2 separate regions of the Homo sapiens genome follow, and region 1 is linked to region 2. The links are contacts of gene promoters, found by promoter capture Hi-C in human tissues and cell types (Jung and others, 2019). All regions are on one chromosome and are shown on one strand. The core of a region is centred on a gene start or on the middle of the fragment in contact, and the rest is flanking DNA. Distances in the headings are between cores, read along the strand shown.

Region 1 (4,052 bases), core at 1,199-3,698, 1.1 Mb after region 2:
AGTCTCACTCTTGTCGCCCAGCCTGGAGTGCAATGGTGTGATCTTGGCTCACTGCAACCTCTGCCTCCTGGGTTCAAGCGATTCTCCTGCCTCAGCCTCCTGAGTAGCTGGGATTACAGGCACCTGCTACCATGCCTGGCTAATTTTTTGTATTTTTAGTAAAGATGCGGTTTCACCATGTTGGCCAGGCTGGTCTCAAACTCCTGACCTCAGGTGATCTGCCCGCCTCGGCCTCCCAAAGTGCTGGGATTACAGGCTTGAGTCACTGTGCCCGGTCCCTTGTTTTTATTTCTCTTAGCTATATAGCAAGGAGTGAAATTGCTAGGTCCTACCGTAACTCTGTGTAACATTTTGAGGAACTGGCAAACTGTTTTCCAAAGTAGCTGCACCATTTTACATTCCTACCAGCAATGTATAAGTGGTCTAATTCCTCTAAACTCTCCCCAATACTTGTTATTATCTTTCTTTTTTATTATAGCTATCCTAGTGGATGTGGAGTGGTATCTCATTATGGTTTTAATTTGCATTTCCCTAATGACTAATGATGTTGAATATGTTTTCATATGCATGTTGGATTTTATATACTGTTCGGATCCTTTCCCCATTGTTTATTTATTTATTTTTTGAGATGGAGTCTTGCTCTGTCACCCAAGTTGGAGTGCAGTGGTCCCATCTCGGCTCACTGCAATCTCTGCCTCCCGAGTTCAAACAATTCTCTCGCCTCAGCATCCCAATTAGCTGGGATTACAGGTGTGCACCACCACACCTGGCTGATTTTTGTATTTTTAGTAGAGATGGGGTTTTATCATGTTGGCCAGGCTGGTCTTGAACTTCTGACCACAAGTGATCCGCCTGCCTGGGCCTCTTAAAGTGCAGAGACTATGACGTAACCCACCGCACCTGGCCCCATTTTTAAGTCTTTTTGTTACTGAGTTAAAGAATCATTTATATATTCTGGATATGAGTCCTTCATTAGATATATGACTTTTATTTCCTTTCATTCTGGTCGTTGTCTTTTGACTTTCTTGGTGGCATCATTTGCAGCACAAAAGTTTTAAATTTTGAAGAAGCTTAATTTATCTGTTCGTTCTTTTGTCACTTGTACTTTTGGTGTTGTAGCTAAGTAGCCTTTGCCTAACCCAAGGTCACAAATACTTGTTTCTGTGTTTTAAGAGTTTTATAGTTTTAGATCCTACATTTGGGCCTATGATCCATTTTGAGTTAACTTTTGTGTATGGTATGAGGAAGATGTCTAACTTCATTTCTTTTTCATGTGGATATCCAGTTGTAGTGGCACCATTTGTTGAAGGCTATTCTTTCCCCCATTGAATTGTCTTGGCACCCTTGTTGAAAAGCAGTTGGCTATACATGTAGGGGTTTATGTCTGAACTCCCAATTCTGTTTCATTGATTTATATGCCTTCCCTCATGCCAGTACTGCCCTGTCTTGATAACTGTAACTTTGTCTCACATGTTAATAGGAGAGTTAGGGCAGAAGTGGGCAATCTAGACTTTTTCTTTCCCTGGTCTGACCAGTTACTAGATTCTTTAGATCCTTCCTCAAGTTTTCAACCACACTTTATTTCTCCTCTGTATATTTTTGTGACATGTCCTCTTGCTGGTTTCATTAGGAGACGATATCCTGATAGACCTGAGAAGTCTCAGCTGTCTGACACCTTAGTTTTCTCCTAGCAACGCCAGCTAACTTCATTCTAACTCAGTTGCTTGGCTCCGATGGGCTTTCTCTGTTGTATAGAATTAAACCTTTGGGCCATGAAAGGATGCTCTGGTTCCTGAAATTCTCTAACTGGTTAGGTTCAGGATAATAAGCTTACTGTACTGTTAAGAGAAGTAAAGATCTTTCCAACAGGCTATATAAGTGAGCAGTTCTAGCAGATACTTCTCCCACATGGTCGGTGATACAGCCTTTAAAAGCCTAACCTTGTCCTCCCTGGGCCTTTCTTTTATCGCAGGCGTCTGTAGCATTGTGTTGTAGGCATGAGATTTGCTGATATTGGCATCTTTGTAGTAGTGGAGAAATGGAGGACAGGTAAGAGATCTGCCTGGAGAGGTGGAATGTGGGGCAGGACCATTTCCCATCACTTCAAATTGCTAAACCGAAGAATACAAAGCCCCTGTGACCTCTGGAATCAACAATAACCACCCTGAGATTGTCATTCCTTTCTGTTGTGGATTGTGTGCAGCATACCTAGAGCTTACACTGTGAACTGTATCCTAATTTAAGCTAATTTAAATTTCTGTTTTATATTGGACATGAAAAAAATCTGTACTCCGAAGCTGCCCTTCCTCAAGAGCTTCTATTAAAGACCCTGGGCCGGGTGTGGTGGCTCACACCTGTAATCCCAGCACTTTGGGAGGCCGAGGCAGACAGATGATGAGCTCAGGAGATCGAGACCATCCTGGCTAACATGGTGAAACCCCGTCTCTACTAAAAATATAAAAAAATTAGCCAGGCGTGGTGGCGGGCGCCTGTAGTCCCAGCTACTCGGGAGGCTGAAGCAGGAGAATGGTGTGAACCCAGGAGGCGGAGCTTGCAGTGAGCCGACATCGCGCCACTGCACTCCAGCCTGGGGGACAGAGCGAGACTCTGTCTCAAAAAAAAAAAAAAAAAAAAAAAGAAAGAAAAAGAGACCCTGCCCATGCAAATGGGGCAGGGAAGTGGACATGTCAGAAAGCGAGGGTTATGAGGACAGGTTCTGGATTCAGCCTGCCCGAATGCAGTTCCTCCTAAGTGATCTTGGACAAGTTACTTAAACTATCCAAGTGTCAGTTTCCTCATATTTAAGATGGCGATAAGAATAGCACCCGCCTTCTGGAATTGTTAAAAGGTCGAAATCCCGTGTAAAGATCTTAACACAGGCAAGGGTTGGCAAACTTTTTCTATGAAGAGCCAGAGAGTCAACATTTTAGGCTTTGTGACACCATAGGCTTTGGGGTTTCTGTTGCAACCACTCGGCCCTGCTGTTGTAGCTTGAAAGCAGCCACAGACAGTCTGCAAATGGAAGGGCGTGGCTATGTTCCAATAACACTGCGCTTTTCAAAACAGGTGAGGGGCTGGGTTTGGCCTGCAGGCTGTCGTTTGCCGACCCCTGGCTCAGCACAGGGCCTGGCTAAGTGGGCACAATGGGTTTTTCATAAATGCCAGCCATTCTTCCAGCCTGGGGACAGCTCCTTGACATCAGTCTCCTTGTTCATTTGCTTTGTGTTTTTAACAGAATGTCGAGGTCTTGGCGAGCAGGAGCAACACTTCAGAGCAAGACCAGGCGGGGACTGAAATGCGCGTGAAGCTTCTGCAGGAGGAGAATGAGAAGCTGCAGGGAAGAAGCGAAGAGCTGGAGCGGAGAGTTGCTCAGCTTCAAAGGCAGATCGAGGACCTGAAAGGCGATGAAGCCAAGGCGAAGGAAACGCTGAAGAAGTACGAGGTGAGGCTCGCTGGGCCCAGGCCCAGCTTTGGCAGCTGCTGCTCCTTCTTTCCTGTGTAAGTGATTTCAAAAGTGGGGAAGGGATTTATTGTCATGATGTAGTAGGAAAGGTCAAGGCAATAGTGAATACATCCTCTCTGCAAGCCATTTCTTTGTTCCCCTGGGAGTGGCATGACAGGGAGGCCAGGGAACAGGGACGGTGAGGTCAGGCGGGAACACAGGTCTAGGCACAGGAATCCCCACACACCCAGATACCAGACATACCCAGCCTTCCATGGCTTCACACAGGCATCCACCTGAAAGGGCTGTCTTAACACCACCATTAGACCGATTCTCACTCAAGACTATTTATTCTTTTTTAACTCATTGTTGATGTTTTTGAAGTGACACTGATTTTAACAAGCCAATTATCTGGTTGGCCAGACCTCTAGCAGTGGGAAGCTGTGACTGAGAGATGGCACACTCTCAGCAGTAGGAAAGGGCAGCTGACAATGAAAGAGGAGACACACGTGGTCACTGCCTTAGTCTGTCCTGTGCTGCTATCATGGAATACCACCCTGGGGTAATTAAGGAAAAATAGAAATGTATTTCTCACAGTTCTGGAGGCTGA
Region 2 (3,609 bases), core at 418-2,917:
ATTTTATAGAAAAAGCATAAAAAATAAAAGCAGGCTGGGCGCGGTGGCTCACCCCTATAATCCCAGCACTTTGGGAGGCCGAGGCGGGCGGATCACGAGGTTAGGAGTTCGAGATCAGCCTGGTCAATATGGTGAAACCCCGTCTCTACTAAAAATTAAAAAATTAGCCAGGCGTGGTGTTGCGCGCCTATAGTCCCAGCTATTCAGGAGGCTGAGGCAGAAGAATCGCTTGAACCCCGGAGGCAGAGGTTGCAGTGAGCCAAGATCGTGCCACTGCACTGCAACCTGGGCGACAGAGCAAGACTCCATCCAAAAAAAAAAAAAAGTAAAAGCAACTTACTCAAGGGTCCGTAGCTAAGGTATAGCAGTAGTAGGATTCAAAGACAGGCCGGCTCCAGAAACCCAGGTCTTTACGATTACACCGAGCTGAGGCACAATCAGGCATCACTTACCTGCTGCTGTTGTTTATCTACTCATTTCCAGCATTAACAGCTGACTTTCATCGTTTCCAAGGTGCAAAATGAAAAAAAAAGTAACAATGAATAGTAAAACTTACCTTTTGAATGGCCTCTTCCATATCCAACTCAAATTGTTCATTTTGTAATAATCTGAGAAATTGCTTGCGCTGAACACGGTTATCATTTTCATTCTGCACCATTTGATTCCTGATTTGACTGTTGACGTTTTTTAGAGCTTGGACATGTAATTTTTTGCAGTAGTTTTCATCTACTAATTTCTGATGCCTTTCACTACAGCTCAAATTTCTCCTTTTGGAACCCTACGATGGAAGAAAAAAAAAGATGCATATTTTGATATTCCAAAATCTAATTTTAAAAAATGTATTGATATAAACCTTAGTAAGAAAGGATACGAAGAGCCTGGCTTCCTTCCTAAATTCAAAGGAGTATACCGAATAAAAAGTAAACGTGGTAAATATGTTCACATATCGATTAAATAGGTACTGTTATTATTACCTATTTTATAGATGAAACATGAAAAGTAACTTTACCCAAGGTTCTGCAGCTAATAAATAGCTGTGCTAGGATTAATCGCACCCTACAGACCCAGATCTTTACTACCACCAGGGAATTTCTCCTCCCCTCATTCCACCCACCACCACCACCACCACGACTACCACCACAGGGCCATAAAGTGCTGTTCAGAAGCTGGTCAGATTTTCCTAACATAAATGTAATAGGTCAATTCGCCGCTATTTATCAATTCGCTTTCTCCTACACTTTTATATCTACTTATTTCTTCAGAGGTTCTATTGGGCAGATTTAAAGATGTATTTAATACACTATGCGAAAAGTGCCAAAAAAGCTGGAAACCACCGCGAGCGTCCCTTCTAATAGCACCTGAAGCCTCCGAAAGCAAATACAAGTTCCCCAATTAATGACCAGATTAAGCACTTAAAATCCTTTTTTAGAAGCAGATGAGCGCCAAACTAGAATTAAATCAACAATAAACAAGTAGTTTCAAGTCCCCCAACTGGCTCACCATCTTGGCTGACGAAAAATACCCCCTCTCGTGGGACCGCGGCCACCACCTCCCGCCGCAAACGCAGCAGCCAGCAGCCCCAAGGAGCGCACCTGGCTGCGCGCGCTCGGGTGTTTACGCGGCGTCTTGGCAACGGTGGAGCTGCGCGCCCTCCGCTCGACCAAAAGTGACCCACGCAGAACGTGGCCTCCCATTGGACGCGATAAGATACAATCGGCATTGAGCTTCTTAGGACCAGGGCAGGAGGGCTACTTCTATAGGTCTAAACTAGAAAAGCGGGAAGTTCAGACTGTGGCCTGACCCAAGCACTTTGCAGTGGGCTAGGGAAGCTCGATTTCCCTCCAGCGGCCGAACTGTGGTTTCAGTGGGTTTGGGAGCCAAGTTCGGGACTGTGGAGACTGCGCACAGAGAAATACGCAAACTACTGCCTAATGCATGGAGCCGAAGGAAATTTCCACGCATGGAGCATCCCGCACACTAAGTGCCTAGTCAGCCAGGTCTCTGCTAGGGACGATGACTGGTTTAATCCTCAGCAATGGGAGTCCAGGTCGCTGTCCCCTTTGCTGGGTTGTGAGGCACTGAGGGTAGCACGAGCTTCCAGCAGCCTTCACTTCACCCCCCCGCCCCCCCCCCCCCCCCGCAGAAGCTGCTGGTAAATTTTGGGACTAAAATCTATGAGCCACATGAATCTTACTCTGCTATGTGGTCCAGGTACCAAGAGAGAGCACGTTACATGATGGCAGGATGTTGATCTGGTTCATTCCATAGGCAGGTTAGACACTAAAGTCCATTTTAAATGGGAAGTTTAAGAATGATAATGGATCAGAGAAATTAGATATACTGATTTTAGAAATGATACATTCAGAGAAATCTTGTCAACACTAAAATATTTGTATAAGGTGATTAGTGGTATAACTTTGTGTTATTCTAATTTGGAGTCCGTCTTCTGTAGCAATATGTCTGCTTAAAGATTAATAACAAATGGGACTTGCAGTTTCAGTGCTGACGTGTAAAAGCTTGGAAGTTGTCACCCCATCCTTACAACCAGATCAAAACAACTAAAAATCAGCGACTTCTCTTGGTTCCATCATACAACTGAGGTCGCTCGTCTCTCTGTCCTTTGGTCATTTATCCCGTGGTTGCATATCTATGTTGTCTCTAGTACTCCACTCATTGCCATCACTGTTTGAGAGAAATGGAGAGAAGGCGTAAACCTGCCCTCTGGGTGTTCTGTGTAAATTGATCTGGAATGGAGCAAAGCAGGCAGCCTGCTATAAATTTCTCTTCTTGGCATATCCATCTCCGCAAAGGGTTGGGCACTGTATAGAAGAGACAGGAGACAGGCATGGGTTCAGGGTTGAACAGGGTATAACACATTCAATAGAGTGTGGGGTTTAATTTGTTAATTCCTAATAGTGAAATAGTGACATTGCAAAGTATTTCAGCAAACATGTATGTTTTTTACTGTTTACTTCTCGAAATGAAGACTTTCGTCTCTAAAGGGAACTTCAGTTATAATTCCTCATTTCCAGTATACCCTTGGATATGGTAGAAGGATTCATATAATTTCATAGGTAATCTGAGAAAAAGATTTTTGGCCAGAATATTGACCTAAATCCAAGACAAATTTAATCAATTGTAACAATTAGCTGATTTTAACCTTTAAAAAATTATCCTAACAATTACTACATTTTTAATAGACTTTGCTCCTTTTTCGAAGCAGTTTTAGGTTTACAGAAAAATTGACAGAATACAGAGAATTCCCCGTCTCACCTCTCCTCCCCACCGCACCCATACAATTTCCCCTATTTTTAGCATTACATATTAGTGTAGTACATTTGTTACACTTGACGAACCAATATTAATATGATTAAGTTCGTAATTGACATTAGGGTTCACTCTTTGTTTTGTACAGGTCTATGAGGATTTGTTTTGTTTTTTTTCTGAGATGAAGTCTGGCTATGTTGCCCAGTCTGTAGTGCAGTGACATGATCTCGGCTCACTGCAACCTCTACCTCCCAGGTTCAAGCGATTCTCCTGCCTCAGCCTCCCAAGTAGCTGAGACTACAAGCAAATTTTTGTATTTTTAGTGGAGACGGAGTTTCACCA

The links. Contacts are between HindIII fragments. The study calls those that stand out against the background at their distance.
Region 1: a fragment that was not itself captured here is called in contact with the fragment with the promoter of MNS1 in region 2 in 1 of the 25 tissues and cell types used here (lymphoblastoid cells).

What each region holds. Positions count from the first base shown.
Region 1 is chr15:57,513,545-57,517,596 of GRCh38, forward strand. CGNL1 (cingulin like 1) reads left to right here. Exons shown (of 19, transcript NM_032866.5): 9 at 3,236-3,442. Among named protein-coding and RNA genes, the nearest start is that of GCOM1, 76 kb to the right of the region's middle. The HindIII fragment of the contact is 4,559 bases long and covers 170-4,052 here.
Region 2 is chr15:56,463,470-56,467,078 of GRCh38, forward strand. It overlaps MNS1 (meiosis specific nuclear structural 1), which reads right to left and starts at 1,668. Exons shown (of 10, transcript NM_018365.4): 1 at 1,501-1,668; 2 at 557-778. The coding sequence starts at 1,503. RefSeq lists a silencer at 1,598-1,847. The HindIII fragment of the contact is 6,259 bases long and covers 1-3,609 here.